3 separate regions of the Homo sapiens genome follow, and all the other regions are linked to region 1. Evidence: promoter capture Hi-C in human tissues and cell types (Jung and others, 2019). All regions are on one chromosome and are shown on one strand. Each heading gives the region's core, a stretch centred on a gene start or on the middle of the fragment in contact. The rest is flanking DNA. Distances are from core to core; before and after follow the strand shown. Region 1 holds the start of LRP12 (LDL receptor related protein 12). Region 2 overlaps LRP12 (LDL receptor related protein 12). Region 3 has its middle 60 kb from the start of LRP12.

What was found. The method cuts DNA at HindIII sites, captures the fragments that hold promoters and counts their contacts. A contact is called where the count stands out against the background at its distance.
Region 2: a contact is called between a fragment that was not itself captured here and the fragment with the promoter of LRP12 in region 1, in 2 of the 25 tissues and cell types used here (bladder and mesenchymal stem cells).
Region 3: a contact is called between a fragment that was not itself captured here and the fragment with the promoter of LRP12 in region 1, in 2 of the 25 tissues and cell types used here (IMR-90 fibroblasts and aorta).

What each region holds. Positions count from the first base shown.
Region 1 is chr8:104,587,168-104,590,957 of GRCh38, forward strand. It overlaps LRP12 (LDL receptor related protein 12), which reads right to left and starts at 2,091. Exons shown (of 7, transcript NM_013437.5): 1 at 1,652-2,091. The coding sequence starts at 1,730. RefSeq lists silencers at 1,250-1,359, 1,790-2,129. The HindIII fragment of the contact is 16,882 bases long and covers 1-3,790 here.
Region 2 is chr8:104,551,946-104,555,628 of GRCh38, forward strand. All of the region lies in intron 1 of LRP12 (LDL receptor related protein 12), which reads right to left. Among named protein-coding and RNA genes, the nearest start is that of LRP12, 35 kb to the right of the region's middle. The HindIII fragment of the contact is 3,481 bases long and covers 304-3,683 here.
Region 3 is chr8:104,647,628-104,651,086 of GRCh38, forward strand. No RefSeq gene overlaps it. Among named protein-coding and RNA genes, the nearest start is that of LRP12, 60 kb to the left of the region's middle. The HindIII fragment of the contact is 5,083 bases long and covers 1-3,459 here.

The DNA.
Region 1 (3,790 bases), core at 841-3,340:
ATTCTGATCGGACATCACAGAAATTCAATGCTTATTATAGTAGAGGACAAAGCTGGACAATCCTAATCACCCTAAATTAAAGATACCTCTCAATTTCTTCTCTCTCCTGGGCCATTACACCAAACCTAGAGCAGAACTATACCCACCTTCAGGGCAGAAGAAACAACGTAATAGCTTATTGATCTCTGGTGTAGACCCAAACCCACAAGTCATCAGGCAAGCAGGGATTACAGCCACTTGATGCAGCTAACAATCAAAAGTCGTGTACTGGGTTTTTGGTCCCACACAAGCACACCTCTGGCAATTACCCCTACATAAAAAATGGACCAAACTACTCTCCTCACCAAAACAAACAAAAATACTACTAATCAGGTACGGGAGCAACACATCCTTAATTGTACCAAAAAGAATTTCTTGGCTGTCAGTAAATGCCCAATTACGTTCATTAATTCTTCATTTAGCGTCACTTGCCAGGTTTCAAAAGCCACCATCACATTCAATTCCGTAGATAAATGCCTTCAAAAGAGATAACACTTGCTGACAAATTGGCTGTTGACTAAACCTCACCACCACCACCATTATACTAGTCAAATCAATGTTTGTGGCAAATGAATTAGACTTTTTATAAGTAAAATTTACCAAAGTAATGATATCTTCTAATTCTTTTTCTGGAGAAATCAGAGCAACACTCCAAAAAGGAAAGGTTAAAACTGAGCTCTCTGAAATACCTATTCAGTGTGTTTAACTGATGAACTAAGAACGGTGAAGTCAGAAGTGTAACTTAATTATCTTAAGAGATAGATGTTCTTTGCAATTAATTCCATTCAGCTCTTGCTCAGACCCCAACGCAATATAAAGCTGTCCGCACAGTCTTCAGCCTTCTCTTAACCCGAAAGGAGTTATCTCTAACCCGATCCATCGACTGGAATAAAGTAACAGTGACCACAGCGGCGGACGAGGATGGATGAAATTACAATTGAACTAGGAGTCAGGACAGATGTGTACACCCTAACAGGAGAGACTGAGGTGGGGCTGGAAACTATTTTCTGGCCTTCTCCCGCGTGCTGCTCCCGGGGAACCAACAGGACCCTGCACGCCCGGATTCGGCAGAGCCCTTGCCCCCGAGGTGGAGTGGGGAGAAGTCAGCGGGAAGCCTTTTCAGGGAATCGAGTAGGACAAGGGCTGGCGCGGTGGGAATCTCGCCGGTGAGAGAACTTCCTAACCCCGGGTTGAGGGGGCGGGGGGAAGGACCGTCCCGGCAGCGGCGGGGGCGAGCTCCTCTGCTTTCTCACAGTCAAGCATCTTTGTGTGTGGATTGTGCCAGGCTACGGGTCCTGGAGCAACTGGCCGCGGGGGCCCTCGAACCCAGGTCGGGAAGTCCGCCCGCCACCCCCTCGCTCCGCCGGGGCCCTCCCGGCCGGGCCCCCCAGCCCCTCTCCACCACCCGAGGGTCTGGAGGTGGACGAGTGGAGAAAAGCATCTCCGTGTGGGGACACCCGTTCCGCCACATCCACCCCCTCACCGGTCTTTGTCCCGCCGGTAGCCAGGGTCTCCGCGGGAGTCTCCAGGGGAACCCCCGTCCTGGAGGCCTCGGGGCCCGGGTCGCCTCAGCTTTGTTCGGTCAGCGGGGCGCGGGGACGCGGACACTTACCGTACACCCCAGCGAGGAAAAGCAAGAGCAACGCAGACCTCCACCGCGGAGACTCTTTTGTGCTCCAGCGACAGGCCATAACCACAGCAGATGGAGAGAGAGAGGAGGAGACGGAGGAGGAGGGAGGAGAAGCTGGAGGTAGACGACGCCGACGCCGCCGCCGCCGCCGCCGCCGCCGCCGAGCCACCGGCTGCTCCCTGCGCTCTCCGCGGCTGCGGGAGGGGGAAGGGAGGGGCCGCCGCCGCCCGCGCGCGCTCCCTCCTCCCTCCTCCCTCCGGCTCGCCTGCTCCCACCCCGGGCGGTGCGAGAGCCCCACGCGGGGCGGCCCTCCTGGGGGCAAGGGCAAGGAGCTCGCGCGCCAGCGCGAGACGAGAGGGTGGCGGACGCCGGACTCCGGCCTCGCGCCGCTCGGGCTAGCCGGCGCCGCCACTCGCCAGACTGAGCGCGCGCCCATCCGTGCGATCGGCAATCCCCTGGCCCGCCTGCCTCGGTTCCCTCCCCGCGCTCCGCTGGACTTTCCAAGTTTCGGGCCGATTTCCACGCGACGGGAGCCCAAGGAGCAAGGCAGCGCCAATCGATGACAGAGCGTGCGAACGCCGGCTGCTGGATGCCCAGGGGCTGGAGCGCGGGGTGTGTGGAGGAGCACGGTCGCTGTCCGAGGGCTGGGCTCTGGCCCAGCGGGTGGGGGGAGGGGGGGTGGGATACCAGCTGGGAGGCTGAAGGTGGTTCCGTGTTGGGGGAGGCGTGGATGGTCTGAAGCTGACAACTTGGGAGTTCCTTCCTCTATCCGGTACCCCCAAGTCTCCACTTGCTGTCGGCGCGGAGCTTCGAGTGGGGGTGGGCTCAAGTTAGTGCGGCCAACCTGGCAGCTGGTCGGTCAAGGGGCAGTGTGGACTCCCACGCTCAAGGTGCCCGGAATGAGTCGGGCAAGGCTTGTGCAGAGCCCCTCCAGTCTGGCGTGGAAGCGCCAAGAGGTCATTTGACATCTCACGCTGGGTCGGGTGCAGCTGGGCCAGGATGTTCGGCAGGGCTGGAGCCGACTTTCAGGGTAGATATATTGAAAGGAGGATTCGCCCATCACGCTGCAGTTTCCCTAAAGCTCTTTTCTCACTCCCAGCAAATGGGAGTCCTCCTTTACTTAGATCCCCAGAACACTTTTCTAAGTACGTCTGTAGTGACGCTGGCACATCAGACCTTACCCCCTGTGTTTTTAAAGCGTTTGTCTACAACGTCTTATTTATATTAGATTTTATCGTTGCCCTTTGCAAGCACTCTCCATGCTATTCATTGAAGACCTACACTGCATCATGCTGTCCTATTGACATAGGTTGTCACTTTTTAATCCCAAACATCCTTGTGAGATAAATATTACCCATGTTTTATAGAAAAGAGAGAAATTAAATTACTCATGGCAAGTAAGTTGTTTGAAACAGTTTTTCTCATTCCAAAGTAAAGATTGTTGCCCCTATACCACAGCAAACTCTCTAGCACAATGCTTAGCGCCTAGTAATGTGTCGGAGTTGGTGCCTGCCAGGGGGTTCGTGGTCTCCCTGACTTCAAGAATGAAGCTGCAGACCTTCCCGGTGACTGTTAACAGCTCTTAAAGATGGCACGGACTCAAAGAGTGAGCGGTAGCAAGGTTTATTGCGAAGAGCAAAAGGACAGCTTCCACAGCATGGAAGAGAACCCCAGGTGCTGGCTGGTGGTGGCCAGCTTTTATTCCCTTGTGGTCCCCTCCCATGTTCCATTTCTGTCCTATCGGAGTGCCCCTCTTTCAATCCTCCCTGCGATTGGCTACTTTTGGAATCCTGCTGATTGGTGCGTTTTACAGAGTGCTGATTGGTGCATTTTACAGAGCGCTGATTGGTGCATTTTACAATCCTCTTGTAAGACAGGAAAGTTCCTCAAGTCCCCACTGGACCCAGGAAGTTCAGCTGGCCTCACCTCTCAGTAAGTAAATGTTAAAATTTAAAACATACTTTCTGGGGAATACATTTAGGCTTTTCCTCAGTCTCCTGCCGATTTGCCCCCTTTTAAGTTTTTTTTTTTAAAACCAGGAAATGCTATTCCAAAAGATAAGAGAAAAATGTATTAATAAGTATTACAAAAATCTAATAATTAACAAATCTTATATCATCT
Region 2 (3,683 bases), core at 794-3,293, 35 kb before region 1:
GGCATGAAACATCCTCTGCATAATTAACAATTTGGTTTCATATGATACTGTAAGTAAGAGGAGAGAAGGAAAAGGATAAAGAATGTATAAAGAGAAAGCTAGGCATTCTTCCACGAGTGAACGAAGTCAGAAAGCCACAAGTGGAAGATTTCAAACCCAACTATTCCCTTGAATTAGAGAGAAATTTATTATCACTGTCTTTCAAAATGTTTGGTAAATGACTATCAAATATTTTACATTTTGAGCAGCTTCAGTCTTTAGATTGTAAGGGACTTTGCTCTGCATTAGCTTTAGAACTTGTTGGGGATGGGGATACCAAGAAAATGGCATTTTTTAAATTTACCATTTTTGATCTTCAGTGACTCCTGGGTTCTTAACAGCTTATAGCCCATCAATCTAATAAATGTATAAATATGTCTTTTTTTTGTTGTTTTTTTTTTTTTGCCGGGCGTGGTGGTTCATGCCTGTAATCCCAGCACTTTGGGAGGCCGAGGCGGGCAGATCATCTGAGGTTGGGAGTTCGAGACCAGCCTGACCAACATGGGGAAACCCCTTCTCTACTAAAAATACAATTTTTTTTTTCTCTCAGCAAATAGCTAACTTTTCACTTACTTCTACTTAAGTCATCTCATAGCTTACCTACTCTTTCATGGAACCTTAAAGTACTATCTTCCAGTTAACCTGTCAGCTTGGCATTTTTCTACAGAAATATCACATGTGAAGCAGAGAATTATCCTTTTTCACATAATTGATAAAAGTTATCCAATGTAAGAAAAAAAATGGTGCACAGGAGGCAGGACTAACTTGCAGCTCCCACTCAGACAGACAGAGCAGTGTGTGGAGACCCATGTCATGAACTTTTGCTCCAAGAACTACCACAGAAACATACCAAGAAAGCCTAGAGAATCCACAGATCCTTTGAATGAAGCTGCTTGCTGCTGCAGGCTCTGTGAGATAGCCAAAAACTGTGAGTGCCCAAAGTGTGAGGGGGGAACGTTTGCCCCTAAATGCACATCCTCACTGGTCCAGATCATGGGAAAAGAACTTGACCTTACCTGGAGCTGAGATTAATTTAGAAAGCTGAGTGAAATATAGGGGTACAGGAAGCAGTGGGAAGAGCCCTGTGGGCACTCTAGGTCCACAGGGAAGCCATTTCTGACTTTGTCTTCCAGGGGTCCTTGGGGAGGGCTGCCAGTGAAACTGGCAAAAAACCACAGGGAGAAGGAAACTTCCAGTTGAACTTTGTAACAATTTCAACTGAATGTGAAGTTTACTGGACAGAATCCGGGGGAGGGGGAAAATGGGGAGTGCAGATACATGCACAGAAGTCTTGGCAGGGGCAGAGGCATGAAACCTGAAAGCCCTGCTTGCTTTCTCAGCAGGGAAGTTTGTAGACTGGGCCAAGTTCTCAGCCTTGCTCACCGGCTGCCTGGAAATAAACTTGGTGCTGTTGGAGAAGCACGGTGGGAGTGAAACCGGCCTTTCAGGCTGCATGGGAGCTGGGTAAGGCCTGTCATTGCTGGCTTTCCCCCACTTCCCTGGCGACCTGTATGATACAGCAGAGGCAGCCATAATCCTCCTGGGTACGTAACTCCATTGGCTTGAGAACTACACCTTCATTCCCCACAGCAGCTGCAGCAAGCCTTGCCCAAGGAGAGTTTGAGCTCGGCCACACCTAACCCTGCCCCCACCTGATGATCTTTTTCTACCTGCCTGGTAGCCAAAAAACAAAGGACATAATCTCTTGGGAGCTCTGTGGTCCCACCCACTGCCTGAGAAACCTTATCCAGGTGACCTTAGGGCAAGCTTGTATCCTCCTTACACTACCACAGCTGATGCTCTCTTGAAAGTGCCACCTCCTGGCTGGAGGCCAACAAACAAAAAACCAGTGCACTAAACAAAAATACAATCAAGGACCCTCACAGAGTCCACTTCACTCCCATGTTATGTTCACTGGAAAGATGCTGGTATCCATAGCTGAGAGACCTGAAGATGGATCACATCTCAGGACTTATTGCAGACACTCCCCAGTACCAGGCCAGAGCCTGGTAGCTCTGCTGGGTGGCTAGACCCACAAATGAAACAAGAATCACTGCAGTTCACCTCTCAGGAATACTACGGGAAGGGAGAGAACACCACATCAAGGGAGCAACCCATGGGAAAAATGACTCTGAGCAGCAGCCCTTGAGCCCGAGATCTTCCCTCTGACATAGTCTATCCAAATTAGAAAGAACCAGAAAAAAAATTCTGGCACTATAACAAAACAAAGTTCTTTAACACCCCCAAAAGATCACACTAGCTCACCAGCAATGGATCCAAACCAAGAAGAAATCTCTGACTTGCCAGAAAAAGAATTCAGATGGTCGATTATTAAGCTACTCAAAGAGGCATCAGAGAAAGGTGAATACCAACTTTAAGATTTTTTTTTTAAATGTTACAGGATATGGCCAGAAAAATCTCCAGATAAATAGATAGCATAAATAAAAAACAATCACAACTTCTGGAGATGAAGGGCACACTTAGAGAAATGGAAAATACATTGGAAAATTGAAACAACAGAACAAGTAGAAGAAAAAACTTCAGAGCTTGAAGACAAGGCTTTCAAATTAATCCAATCTGATATAAACAAGGAAAAAAGAATTAAAAATAAAATGAACAAAGACTCCAAGAAATTTGGGATTATGTTAAATGACCAAACCTAAGGATAATCGGTGTTCCTGAGGAAGAATAGAAATCTGAAAGTTTGGAAAACATATCTGAGGGAATAATCAAGGAAAACTTCCCTGACTTTGCTAGAGATCTAGACGTTGAAATACAAAGCTCAAAGAACACTCAGGTGATTCATCATAAAAAGATCATCACCTAGGCACACAGTCATCAGGTTATCTAAAGTCAAGATGAAGGAAAGAATTCTAAGGGCTGTGAGGCAAAAGCATCAGGTAACCTATAAAGTAAAACCTATCAGATTAACAGCAGATTTCTCAGCAGAAACCTTACAAGCTAGAAGGGATTGGGGTCCTATCTTTAGCCTCCTTAAACAAAACAACTATCAGCCAAGAATTCTGTATCCAGCAAAACTAAGCTTCATAAATGAAAGATACAGCCTTTTTTAGATAAACAAATGCTGAGAGAATTTGCCACTACCAAGTGAACACTACAAGAACTGTTAAAAGGAGCTCTAAATCTTGAAACCAATCCTTGAAATATACCAAAATAAAACCTCCTTAAACCATACATCTCAAAGGACCTATAAAACACAATGAAATATCACAATGAAACACAATGAAATAACACAATGAAAAATAACACAATGAAAACAAACAAGGTATTCAGGCAACAAATAGCATGATGAAAAGAATAGTACCTCGCATTTCAATACCAACATCGAAGGTAAATGGCCTAAATCCTCCACTTAGAAGACATAAAATGCCAGAATAGATAAGAATTCGCCAACCACGTATCTGCTGTCTGCAAGAGACTCATCTGAAACATAAACACTCACAAAGATATTCCATGCAAATGGAGACCAAAAGTGAGCAGAAATGGCTATTCTTATATCAGACAACATAAACTTGAAAGCAACAACAGTAAAAAAGAAATAAATAAATAAAAACACAAAGAGGGACATTATATAATGATAAAAGGACTAGTCCAAAGGAAAATATCACAATCCTAAATATATA
Region 3 (3,459 bases), core at 512-3,011, 60 kb after region 1:
TAGCCCAAGTAGCCCTGCTGAAGAATAGACTGAGAAATTAGGCAACCTTTAAAGGTGTGAGAATAAAAATGCTTTCTTCTCATGTCCCAATAGTACTGTTAAAAACAGGTAGAAGAAACAGCCTCTCTTCAGCTTTTCTATAAGTATTTACAACTAGTGTGTTTATTGTTTCTCTCTTCTAATCAGGATTTTAAAAAATAACTGTTGAGTGTTGTAGGTATTGTAAATTACATTGGTCTAACCTACTGAAGCTGTGTGAATTTCAAATATATCTCATCTTACATGGTAGATGTGTAAAGTGTATCATACTGGGACAGAAATAAATGTTGTTAAAATTCTGTCAGGTAAGCTTTTTACCTAGTTTTGCCCACTTTAGGATCCAGGTATCTATATACATAATAGCTAGAGATGTTCTTTATCAACTTTTGGAAGTGTAAATGCTTTTTTGGTAATTATTCAACCCGTAGTCTATAATGACAACTATTTACAACTTCCCATACATATGTATATACCTCATAGTAAAATGATTCTGCTAGCAGTCTTCAGGTTCTTCTCACTTTGGAAATTGCATTAGTCTTTATCCCATAATACAACGGGAACAGATTCTTTTCTTACTGCTCTTGAGATGTTGGCTTTTTGAAACGGACCCTGATGACCTGGTCTCAGCTTTGGTCTCCATATTTATTTTTCAGTCCAGCCTCTTAAGAACTGAGTGTTTATCAGAGAGCATATATGGGAGGTTTTACTCCTTTTCAGTGTATTCTGGATATTGTTGGTTATTGTTATATTTCATCACTTCCTGCCTGGTGTGCCAAAATGAAAATGGATAACTCTTGTATTGGTCAAAAACATGAAAGTGATTGTGATCGTTTTTAAAAAGACATCTGAAAATTCTTTGACATATCTCCCATCAAGAAGTGGACTCTAAATCTCTTCCCTTTGTGAATGGACTGGCCATAGTGACTCACTTCTAAAACAGAATGTGGCAGAAGTGACACTATGTGAATAACCAGTTTAGGGTAGAAAAGGCCTTTTTTTCTGGGAATACTGACTTTGAAACCCAGCACTGCTTGGAGGAAGCCCAGACCACATAACAAGGCCTGGTAGACAGCCCCCACTGAGGTCCCAACAAATAACCAGCAACAACCACCAGGCATATGAGTGAGAGGTCCTTTGAGATGCCACCACACCAATCCTCCTTTGAATTCAATGGCACTAGAGACTGGAACCATGTAGCTGAATCTGGTCAACCCTCTGAATTGTGAAGAGATAATACTGACAATTGCTATAGTTTTATGCCACTAAATTTGGGGTGGTATGTGATGTAGCAACAGATAACCACAATAGATATGACATTCCCTTGGTTAAACTTACACTTGCTCTGGGCATTTGATCCTTTTACTTTGTTAAGTCTATGTCTTTTTTCTCCATTAAATTTGTGATGCAAAATGCTGACTCATGTTGAGTGCCATTTTTAGAGAAAGTGAACTTAAGAGAGATATTTAGGGACCAAAGGAAACAATAGAGTGGAACCATTTTTGTTTCAACATAAAAAGATGTCACTTGGTAATTGCAGAGAATTAAGATGAATAGAGAACTCAGGGGAAAACTGTGATGGAAGGAGAGTTGATTACTCAGTTGAGTTCATTGTTCAACATGTGGTCTCTCACTTCTGTCTCACCCAACTTCAATCCAGTGTCTGAATACTTTTTCTAAAGCAGCAATCCTGTCATTCACCAACTTGCCTTAAATGCTTCTGATGCATTGTCTTTGGTATAAAACCCAATTTCCTTTGCATAACACAACAGAATCTTTATGAGCCCCTGAAGCTGCCCCATCACCTGTCTTTGCAGCCTCAGGATTCCTCCAACCTCCTCTTACACTCTGTGCTTTGATTGTTTCAATCACGGCTGTAGCTGCCTGTGCATAATTTTGAACTTGGTCTTCCATCTCCCTGGAATGCCTTTCCCCCTCCTTCTTTTCATGGCCAATTCCTACTCATTCTTCAAGTTCAACCATTAATGTTGGCTTTTTCAATGCTGGCTGAGTGCTGAGTTATACACACATTCTGTGTATTCTTTTGGCCCCAGGTGGTTACTTTCTGTCTGGAATTATCCTTGTCCATCTCCTTTCCAGGTTGTGAGCTCCTTGAAGCTAGGGGTTGTGTCTATTGAATCCCCAGAGCCTATCATCCCAGTAAGTGGCTCATAGTAAATACTCATATATGCTCCATAATGCATGAGTTATGGCAGACAGTAAGTGGGAGGAAATTGGAGAATGGTAAGCTACTGTTGTTCCTAGTAACTAGGAAGAAAGTATTATTGTGGTCTTTAACACTTACAATCTTACTACTTAAAAGTTTAGAATAAAGTGGAACAGATGGGATTTAAGCTGTGAAATAGCTTTGGGGCAGACTCTTAAATGGAAATAGGATGAAGAAATCAAACGATTACAAAATAAACTTCATCACGGTAAACTGAAAGAATACATTCTTTATACCTACAATTTTTTGCTTCCATATTATAGTACACAGAGCATATATTTTGAAGGTGAATTTTACTATTGGTAACTTATTCTATATGCTCTACAACTGTGTGTATGTGTATGTATGTAAAAAATACAAAAATATTTTTGTGAAATTATGTAGCCAATGGTATGTTAGAGATGCTAATAGAGTTTTGTAAGAACCAATTGTTAAATTTTTAGGAATTTTGGAAGCTGGTTATTAAACATGATTAGCTTGGAATTGGCCATGTTGGTAGTATTTATTTATTTATTGCCATTTATTTATTTTTCAGATTGAGTCTCACTCTGTTGCCCAGGCTGGAGTACAGTGGTGTGGTCTCTGCTCACTGCAACATTTGCCTCCTGGGTTCCAGCAGTTCTCCTGCCTCAGCCTCTCGAGTAGCTGGGATTATAGGCATGCACCACCATGTCCAGCTAATTTTTGTATTTTTTTGTAGAGACGGGGTTTCACCATGTTGGTCAGGCTGGTCTCAAACTCCTGACCTCAAGCGATCCACCTGCCTCAGCCTCCCAAAGTGCTGGGATTACAGGCATGAGACACCACATCTGGCCCAATGTTGGTACTATTTACACTACAGGAATAGGCAAATGCCACAGTACATACTTATTTTCCCCCAATACCTAACTGGTTATTAAATGTTTAGTGGCACATCACTGGATATAGTTTTGTTATACTCAGTAGAATGTTTATGTCAAAAGGCTGTACAAACTATTTGTCTTTCATAACTTGATGAGAAATGAAAGATGATCAAATGAAACCTATCATGTATGTAGGCAGATGATTGAAAGAACTAGACTGTCTCTTTAGAATACGCCCCAAACTTGAAACTTTCAAACATAGTGGAAATAAACACCATCCTTCTTCTATGGCACGAAGTTATTCTTTATATATTTCTCTTTTTTCTTTTTTGCCTTTTTACTGAGATGACCAAA